Regions from separate parts of the Homo sapiens genome. Here regions 1 and 3 are each linked to region 2. The links are contacts of gene promoters, found by promoter capture Hi-C in blood cells and fetal thymus (Javierre and others, 2016). All regions are on one chromosome and are shown on one strand. Each heading gives the region's core, a stretch centred on a gene start or on the middle of the fragment in contact. The rest is flanking DNA. Distances are from core to core; before and after follow the strand shown. Region 1 holds the start of LOC124903853 (a long non-coding RNA gene). Region 2 holds the start of TMEM51-AS2 (TMEM51 antisense RNA 2). Region 3 overlaps FHAD1 (forkhead associated phosphopeptide binding domain 1).

Region 1 (3,124 bases), core at 436-2,935, 120 kb after region 2:
TTTTTTTTTTTTTTTTGGACGGAGTCTCCCTCTGTTGCCCAGGCTGGAGTGCAGTGGCAGGATTTCGGCAGTGGTGCCATCTCAGCGCACTGCAAGCTCCGCCTTCTGGGTTCACGCCATTCTCCTGCCTCAGCCTCCCGAGTAGCTGGGACTACAGGCTCCTGCCACTATACCCGGCTAATTTTTTGTTTTTGTATTTTTAGTAGAGATGGGGTTTCACCATGTTAGCCAGGATGGTCTTGATCTCCTGACCTTGTGATCCGCCCACCTCGGCCTCCCAAAGTGCTGGGATTACAGACATGAGCCACTGCGCCCAGCCTTAATATGAACATTTTTTAAACATACAGCAAAGTAAAAATAATTTTACAGTGACCCCCTCCCCACCTAAATCTACCATTAACATTTTACTATACTCTTTTTTTTTTTTTTTTTTCTTGAGACAGAGTCTCACTCTATTGCCCAAGCTGGAGTTCACCTTCTGGGTTCAAGCGGTTCTCCTGCCTCAGCCTCCCAAGTAGCTGGGATTACAGGCACACACCACCATGTTCAGCTAATTTTTGTATTTTCAGTAGAGACGAGGTTTTGCCATGTTGGCCAGGCTGGTCTCAAACTCCTGACCTCAAGTGATCTGCCCACCTTGGCCTCCAAAGTGCTGGGATTACAGGTGTGAGCCAACCACGCCTGGCCCATTTTGCTATACTCTTATTGTATATCTCTCTATCAATCATTTTGTGAATTCATTAATTCATCTTAATTTTAGATACATTTTAAAATAAGTTTCCTACAGCTGTAGACTTCCCCCTAAACATTTAGCACGTATACCATTAACTGGAGTTCAACAGTTTTTGTCTTTTTGTGTAAAATTAACATACGGTGTGTATTAGTTACCAATTTATAACCAATTACCCTAACATATAGCACCCTAAAACAAACCAAAACCCTATGCGTTATCTTACACAGTTTCTGGGGGTCAGGCATTTGGGAGTAGCTTAGCAGGATGGCTGTAGTTCAGGGACTCTCAGGAGGTTGCATTAAGCTTTTGACGAGAGCTGCGGTCCTCTGAAGGCCTGGGGCTGGAGGACACATCTCCTGGGTAGTTCACTCACATCCGTGTGTGAAGAGGCCTCAGTTCCTCACTAGCTGACAGCAGGAAGCCTCAGTTCTTCACCACTGCCACCTCTCCTAGGCTGCTTGAGTCTCCTCATGAAATGGCTGCCAGCTTCCTCCAAAAGAGTGGTCCTAGAGAGAAAAGCAGCAGCCACATGTCTCTTAAGATCCAGCCTCAGGAGTCAAACTCCATCATTTCTCCAGTAGCCTTGGTTACATAGATAAGCTCTGTTATGGCTGAATTGTGTTCTCTCAAAATTTATATGTTGAAGTCCTAATCCCCAGTACCACAGAACCTAACTGTATTGAGAGAGTGCCTTTCTTTCTTCCTTCCTTCTTTTCTTTTCTTTTTTTCTTTCTTTTAGAAACTGAGTCTCACTCTGTCTCCCAGGCTGGAGTGCAGTGGCATGATCTCGACTCATTAAAACCTCTGCCTCCCAGGTTCAAGTGATTCTCCTGCCTCAGCCTCCTGAGTAGCTGGGATTACAGGCACCCACCACCAGGCCTGGCTAATTTTTGTGGGGTTTTTTTTGTTTTGTTTTGTCTTTTTGAGACGGAGTCTCGCTCTGTCGCCCAGGCTGGAGTGCAGTGGCACGATCTCGGCTTACAGCAAGCTCCACCTCCCAGGTTCACACCATTCTCCTGCCTCAGCCTCCCGAGTAGCTGGGACTACAGGCGCCCGCCACCACGCCCAGCTAATTTTTTGTGTTTTTAGTAGAGACGAGTTTTCACCATGTTAGCCAGGCTGGTCTCAACCTCCTGACCTCAGGTGATCCACCCGCCTTTAAAGAGGTAATTAAGTTAAAATGAGGTAGTTAGGTTGGGCCCTAATCCAATCTGACTGTTGTCCTTGTGAGAGGAGGTGATTAGGACACAAGCAACACCAGAGGAAAGACCATGTGAGGACACAGTGAGAAGGTGGCCGTCTGCAAGCCAAGAAGAGAGGCCTCAGGAGAAGCCACCCGGCCAACACCTTGATCTTTCAACCTCTAAAACTTGAAAAAATAAATTGGTGCAGTGGCTCACCCCTGTAATCCCAGCAGTTTGGGAGGCTGAGGCAGGAGGATCCCTTGAAGATAGGAGTTCAAGACCAGCTGGGGAAACACAGCAAGACCCCATCTCTATTTTTAAAAGAAAGAATTAAACATTTAATAAAGTAAAATTAATTTCTGTTATTGAGCCCCCTAGTCTGTGGTATTTTGTTATGGCAACCTGAGCATATTAATACAAGCTTCATCCAGCATGGGAGATGACTATATAGGGGCATGAATACAGGGACAAGAATCACCAGGGTCATCTTGGAGACTGGCTGCCACTCAATGAAATGCACAGATCTTGAGTGAACACTCACTACGTTTTGACAATTGTATACACTTGTGTAACCCAAACCCCTGTCAAGAACATCACCATCATCCCAGGAAGCTCCCTCAGGTCCCTTCCAAGTCAGTTCCCAACCCTTGCCCCCAGAGGTAACCACTCTTCCAAATTCTTTTTCCACCATGGATTAGAGACTCCTGTTCTAGATTCTCAAATACATGGAATCATGTAGTGTATGTTTTTCATGTGAGGCTTTTTTCACTCTGCATATTTCTGAGATTCATCCATTTTGCTGTATGTCTTACAAGTTGTTCCTTGTGGCCAGGCGCGGTGGCTCATGCCTGTAATCTCAGCACTTTGGGAGGCCAAGGAGGGCGAATCACAAGGTCGGGAGTCTGAGACCAGCCTGACTAACATGGTGAAACCCCATCTCTACTAAAAATACAAAAATTAGCTGGGTGTGGTGGCACGCACCTGTAATCCCAGCTACTCAGGAGGCTGAGGCAGGAGAATCGCTTGAACCCGGGAGGCAGAGGTTGCAGTGAGCTGAGATTGTGCCACTGCACTCCAGCCTGGGCGGACAGAGCAAGATTCTACCTCAAAAAACCAACAAACAAAAAAACAAAAACAAGTTGTTCCTTGTTATCATTGAGTCACATTCCATGGATGTATCACAGATTTCTTTATCCATTCGTCCATT
Region 2 (2,880 bases), core at 166-2,665:
ACCTGAGAGTCGTGGGGCTTTATCTCAGAATGCCTGGGAGTACAGACCCATGAGCAAGCCAACTTCCTCCTTTCCCTCCTCTCCCCCGGCCCTCTGCTGCAGGGCAAGGTAAAGCTAGGTGCCTGGGATACTGCTGGGTTTTTTTTTATCTTTTTTTTTTTTTGAGATGGAGTCACTGCAACCTCCGCCTTCCAGTTTCAAGCGATTCTCCTGCCTCAGCCTCCTGAGTAGCTGGGATTACAGGTGCGCACCACCACGCCCGGCTAATTTTTGTATTTTTTGGTAGAAACGGGGTTTTGCCATGTTGCCCAGACTGGTATCAAACTCCCAGGCTCAAGTGATCTGCCCACCTCAGGCTCCCAAAGTGCTGGGATTATAGGCGTGAGTCACCACCACACCTGGCCTATTTTAACCATTTTTAAGTGTACAATTCTGGGACATTAAGCACATTTACAGTGCTGTGTGACCATCGCCACTGTCTTTTTTCCAGAACTACTACATCATCCCAAACAGAAATGGAGGCAGGTTTTCTTTTTTTGAGACGGAGTCTCCCTCTGTCGCCCAGGCTGGAGTGCAGTGTTGCGATCTCAGCTCACTGCAAGCTCCGCCTCCCGGGTTCATGCCATTCTCCTGCCTCAGCCTCCCAAGCAGCTGGGACTACAGGCGCCCTCCACCACGCCTGGCTAATTTTTTGTATTTTTAGTAGAGACGGGGTTTAACCGTGTTAATCAGGATGGTCTCGATCTCCTGACCTCATGATCCGCCCGCCTCGGCCTCCCTAGAGGCAGGTTTTCTAAATGCTTGCATGAGTGGTTCTCCATCTTCAGCTTGTGTTAGAATCCTCTGGGGTGGGGGGCTTGTTAAAACATAGATTGCTGGGTCCTCCCTCCTCCTCCACCCCCCGCCACATCCCCCACCCCCAGTTGCTGATTCAGTAGGTCTGAGTGGGGCCCCAGGATTTGCATTTCTAACCAGCTCCTGGGTGACGCTGATGCTGTTGATTTGGGGCCACGCCTGGAAGATCGCTGTTTGAGATCAAAAGGTTTGCAGGTCAGAGTGGATGACGGCATCCTTCCAGGTCAATGAGAGAAGCCAAACTTCTATGACCTATGAGATAAGGGGTTTGTTATAGGAATTAGTTCTTATGCATTCATAGGGGGGGCGGCAGAAAGGAAGGTGGAAGAGTTGCCGGGGACCAGGGGCATCGCCACCTGGCCCTGGGTACACGGGCAAACTGGTGGAGAAGTCTACAGCCAGCCGTTGTCTGGTCCATCCCCAGCCAAGTGTCCGCGGGGGGGCCTGGGCTGCTGTTGGTTAACAGGACCAGCAGTCAGGAGAAAGAGCTGGATGCAGAATGGAGGACAGGCTCGAATGTGCTGGAACCCACGGGGCTGTCTCTCACCTCATCCAATCATGATGACCTCTAAAGTGTAATGGTCGCTGCTTCACTTCCATCTCCCAGCTTTCCACAGATTCCTCTTTTGACCAATTATAACCCAGAACCAGTCAGAGAAGGGGATTCTGGGAAAAGTAGTTCCAGCTTAACCAAGCCCGCACAGCAGGAACTACCACAGCTGATCAATCAGTCCTTGCCGCGGAACCTCCTCCTTGAACCCACAGGTGGTTTCTGGGGCTCTGCTGGGCGTTCCCTGACTCTCTTGACAGGACCTTCTAGCAGAAACAGATGTGGTCCATCCCAACAACCCCTTGCTCAGATCATCAGCTGAGAACTTAATAAAAGCAGATTTCCAGGCCCCAGCCCAGGCCTGCCGAGTCAGACTTCAGCAGTGGGACTCAGGAATCAGATTTTCAAACAAGCTCTCTAGCTGATTAACATACCCAGCCACGTTTGAAACTTCTGAAGTATGGAAAAGAAAGTGGACTCTGTCCAGGCACAGTGGCTCACACCTGTAATCCCAGCACTTTGGGAGGCTGAGGCAGGTGGATCGCTTGAGCCCAGGAGTGCAAGACCAGCCTGGGCAACATGGCAAAACTCCATTTCTGCAAAAAAGAAAAAATACCAAAATTAGTGGAGCATGGTGACACGTGCCTGTAGTCCCAGCTACTTGGAAGGCTGAGGTGGTAGGGTCACCTGACCCTGGGAGGTCAAGGCTGCAGTGAGCCAAGATTGTGCCACTGCACCCCAGCCTGGGCAACAGAGTGAGTGAGACCCTGTCTCAAAAAAAAAAAAAAAAAAAAAGGAAGGAAGGAGGAGGGAGGGAGGAAAGAAAAGAATGGAAAGGAAGGAAGGAGAGAGAGAAAGAAGAAAAAAGAAAGAGAAGAAGGAGAGAGAGAGAGACAGAGACAGAAGAAAAAGGAAAAGAGAAAGTAAGTGAACTCTGGGGCTAGACAGCCACGGGTTAGAATTCTGGTTCCACCACGTGCCAGCTTTGTGATCCTGAGCAAGTGACTTAACCCTTTATGATCCTATATTGTCTACAAGAGTTCCTCCTTTTCTATCATTTCACTCTCCACTGTTTCAGTTACCCATAGCCAACTACAATCTGAAAATATTAAATGGAAAATTCCGGAAAGATATGATTCATAAGTTTTAAATTGCATCCCATTCTGAGTAGTGTGATGAAATCTCACACTGTCCCACTCTGTCCTGCTCCAGACGTGAATCGTCTCTTTGTCCAGCAGATGGGTGCTGTCGACACTACCTGCTCATTGGTCACTTAGGAGCGGTCTGGGTTATCAGATCAGAAAACGTCGTCGTTATGTGTAAGGTCGGGTGCTGTCTGTTGTTTCAGGCATCCACTGGGGGTCTTGGAACGTATCCCCCGAGGATATGTACTCAGCTGTTAAATGGGCTCAATGCCTACCTTTTTCATGGAGGGTTGTGGGAACCGAATGAGGCCATGTGTAATAAACTTCTGG
Region 3 (2,797 bases), core at 206-2,705, 91 kb after region 2:
GGTTCCAGGGATTAGGACACGGACACCTTTGTGGGACCATTCTGCCAATCACAGTTATTACCATCTCTTGCTTGGACTCTGGCCATAGAGAGGGAAGCGATAATATGGGATGTTGAGAGCTTTTCAGAGGAATCAGTAGGGTCACTGCCAGGGACAGTGGAGAAAGATGGTGGATGAGCCAAGAGGATGATGCTATCATTTGTGTTATTGTGGGTTTACTTTGTGCCAGGCACTGTTGTTTGCACTTTTGTGTGTATTAACTCGGTTAATCCTTTCAGCAACCCTACAAGTTAGGGATCTCCCTTCCCCCATTTTACAGATGAGGAAGTTGTGGCACAGACAGACTAAGGAGCCTGCCCAAGGTCACGTATGACGGGCACAGAGGGTGGGATTCATAGTCAGGCTGTCTGGGACCGTGCAGGGACAAGAAGCTTCAGGAAAAGAGGACTTCCGGAACGGGGGTGTGGACACGAGGATGACTAATCGCTGCTCTATCATGAGTGCCTAGCAAGTGGGCACGCATTGCTGTCTCAGCTCAAGGTTCTTTCGAGCCGTCAGTGCACCGAGGGGAACTGTCACAGACTCCATTACACAGGACTCTCGGAACTCTCCCCTCCCTCTCTCAGAGTAGCACTGATTCTGGGGAGCTCTCAGAGATACCGCCTGAAACAGCGTCTTCTCGGGGACTTGCCTGCTTCTCAAGACTCTCCCAGAGAAGCTGAGCAAGGCTCTGATTGACAGGAGGGAAGCCGACAAACTTCCTCTTTCCCTCTGCTCCCAGACTCACAGTCTTACCAGAGCCCTGGCCATTTCCTCATATCCCTATTCCTTTGAAAACCCCAGCTTGTTCTGTTTCTGCATTACATCCCTTTCCTGAGGCAGTGACAGGGGTCACAGTGGGGGCGCAGGATGGCCAAGGACCAAAAGGTAAAAAGAAATATGATTTGATACACACAGGTGCCTGTCGTCCCAGGCACTTGGGTGGCTGAGGCAGGAAGATCACTCGAGCCCAGGGGTTCAAGGCTGTATTATGCTTTGATGGTGCCTGGAAATAGCTACTGCACTCCAGCCTGGGCAACATAGCAAGCCCCTGTGTTTTTAGCACACACGCACACACACACACACACCAGTTAATTTCAAAAATGTTATCCCACCACACTGAAAATTTTGCCAAATAGTATCTTTTGTCAGTCCTTTGAGGTAGAGCTTATCACACTCATTTTTGCAGCATAGGAAGCAGCCTCAGAGAGGCAAAGAAACTTGTCCCAGGCTGCACAGCAGGAATGCAGCAGAGGTGGGACTTGAACTCAGAGCTTTCTAAGTGCAGAGCCCATCCTTCTGCGCATAATAGTGAACATTTTAACACCTGCTATTGGGCTAAAATACTCTTCTAAGTGCTTTTTATATATACTGTTTCATTTATTCTTCACCACAAACCCATAAGGGCCATTCTGCTATTATCTCTGTTTACAGATGAGGAAACTGAGGTCCCAAGGGAATAGATCACTTGCCCAGGGTCACCCCACTAGGAAGTAGGAGAGCTAGAAACGAGGTCTCACTATGTTTCCAGGCTGGCCTCTAACGCCTGGGCTCAAGTAATCCTCCTACCTCAGCCTCACAAAGTGCTGGGATTACAGGTGTGAGCCACAACATGTATTTTGTGACTGCTTTATTTCACCAGCATATGTTCTCAAGGTTCATCCACGTTGTGGCAGAATTTCCTTTCTTTTAAAAGCTAAATAACATCCATTGTTTGGATGGACCACGTTTTGTTTATCTTTTGTCTGTCCATGGACACCTGGGTTGCTTTCACCATTTGGCTACTGTGAATAATGTGAATAATGCTGCTAGGAACACGACTGTACAAATGTCTCTTTGAGACCCTGCTTTCAATTCTTTTGAATATATACCCAGAAGTGGCATTGCCGGATCATATGGTAATTCTATTATTACATTTTTGAGGAACCACAATATTGTTTCCACAGTGGCTGCACTATTTTACATTCCCAGCCACAGTGCACGAGGGTTTAACATCTCCACGTCCTCGCCAACACTTATTTTCTGTGTTTTTATAGTAGCCATCCTAAAGGGTGCAAAGTGGTATCTCCTTGTGGTTTTGATTTGAATTTCTTAATGATTTGTGATCTTGAGCATTCTTCTCATATACTTGTTGGCCATTTGTGTATCTTCTTTGGAGAAAGTCCATTCAAATCCTTTGCACATTTTTTAATAGGGTTATTTTTGTTTTGTTACTGTTGAGTTGTGGGGTTCTTTATATATCATGGAGATTAACCCTTTTTCAGATATGTGATTTGTAAATATTTTCTTCCATTCCGTAGGTTGCCTTTTCACTGTGTTGAGTGTATCCTTTGATATATAGAAGTTTTAATGTTAATGTATTCCAGTTTATCTATTTTTACTTTTGTTGCCTGTGTTCTTGGTGTCATTGCCAAGAAATAACTGTCAAATCTATTGTCCGGAAGCTTTTCTTCTATGTTTTCTTTTAAGGGTTTTATAGTGTTAGCTCTTATGTTTAGGTCTTTGATCCATTTTGAACTAATTTTTGTTTATGGTGTAAGTTAAGGGTCCAGTTTTATTCTTTTTTTTTTTTTTTTTTTTTTTTTGTCTGAGACAGCGTCTCGCTCTGTCGCCCAGGCTGGAGTGCAGTGGCGCAATCTCGGCTCACTGCAAGCTCCGCCTCACGGGTTCATGCCATTCTCCTGCCTCAGCCTCCCAAGTAGCTGGGACTACAGGCACCTGCCACCACGCCCAACTAATTTTTTGTATTTTTAGTAGA

The links. The method cuts DNA at HindIII sites, captures the fragments that hold promoters and counts their contacts. A CHiCAGO score of 5 or more calls a contact.
Region 1: a fragment that was not itself captured here is called in contact with the fragment with the promoter of TMEM51-AS2 in region 2 in 5 of 17 cell types (monocytes, M1 macrophages, M0 macrophages and 2 more); the score reaches 11.8 in monocytes.
Region 3: a fragment that was not itself captured here is called in contact with the fragment with the promoter of TMEM51-AS2 in region 2 in 6 of 17 cell types (M0 macrophages, M1 macrophages, monocytes and 3 more); the score reaches 13.2 in M0 macrophages.

The regions. Positions count from the first base shown.
Region 1 is chr1:15,290,695-15,293,818 of GRCh38, forward strand. All of the region lies in intron 4 of FHAD1 (forkhead associated phosphopeptide binding domain 1), which reads left to right. LOC124903853 (a long non-coding RNA gene) reads right to left here and starts at 1,239. Exons shown (of 2, transcript XR_007065482.1): 1 at 957-1,239. The HindIII fragment of the contact is 1,302 bases long and covers 1,035-2,336 here.
Region 2 is chr1:15,170,209-15,173,088 of GRCh38, forward strand. TMEM51-AS2 (TMEM51 antisense RNA 2) reads right to left here and starts at 1,416. Exons shown (of 3, transcript NR_167931.1): 1 at 1,403-1,416; 2 at 973-1,107. All of the region lies in intron 1 of TMEM51 (transmembrane protein 51), which reads left to right. RefSeq lists an enhancer at 1,936-2,105. The HindIII fragment of the contact is 7,186 bases long and covers 1-2,880 here.
Region 3 is chr1:15,260,912-15,263,708 of GRCh38, forward strand. All of the region lies in intron 2 of FHAD1 (forkhead associated phosphopeptide binding domain 1), which reads left to right. Among named protein-coding and RNA genes, the nearest start is that of FHAD1, 15 kb to the left of the region's middle. RefSeq lists a silencer at 582-876 and an enhancer at 651-710. The HindIII fragment of the contact is 2,052 bases long and covers 430-2,481 here.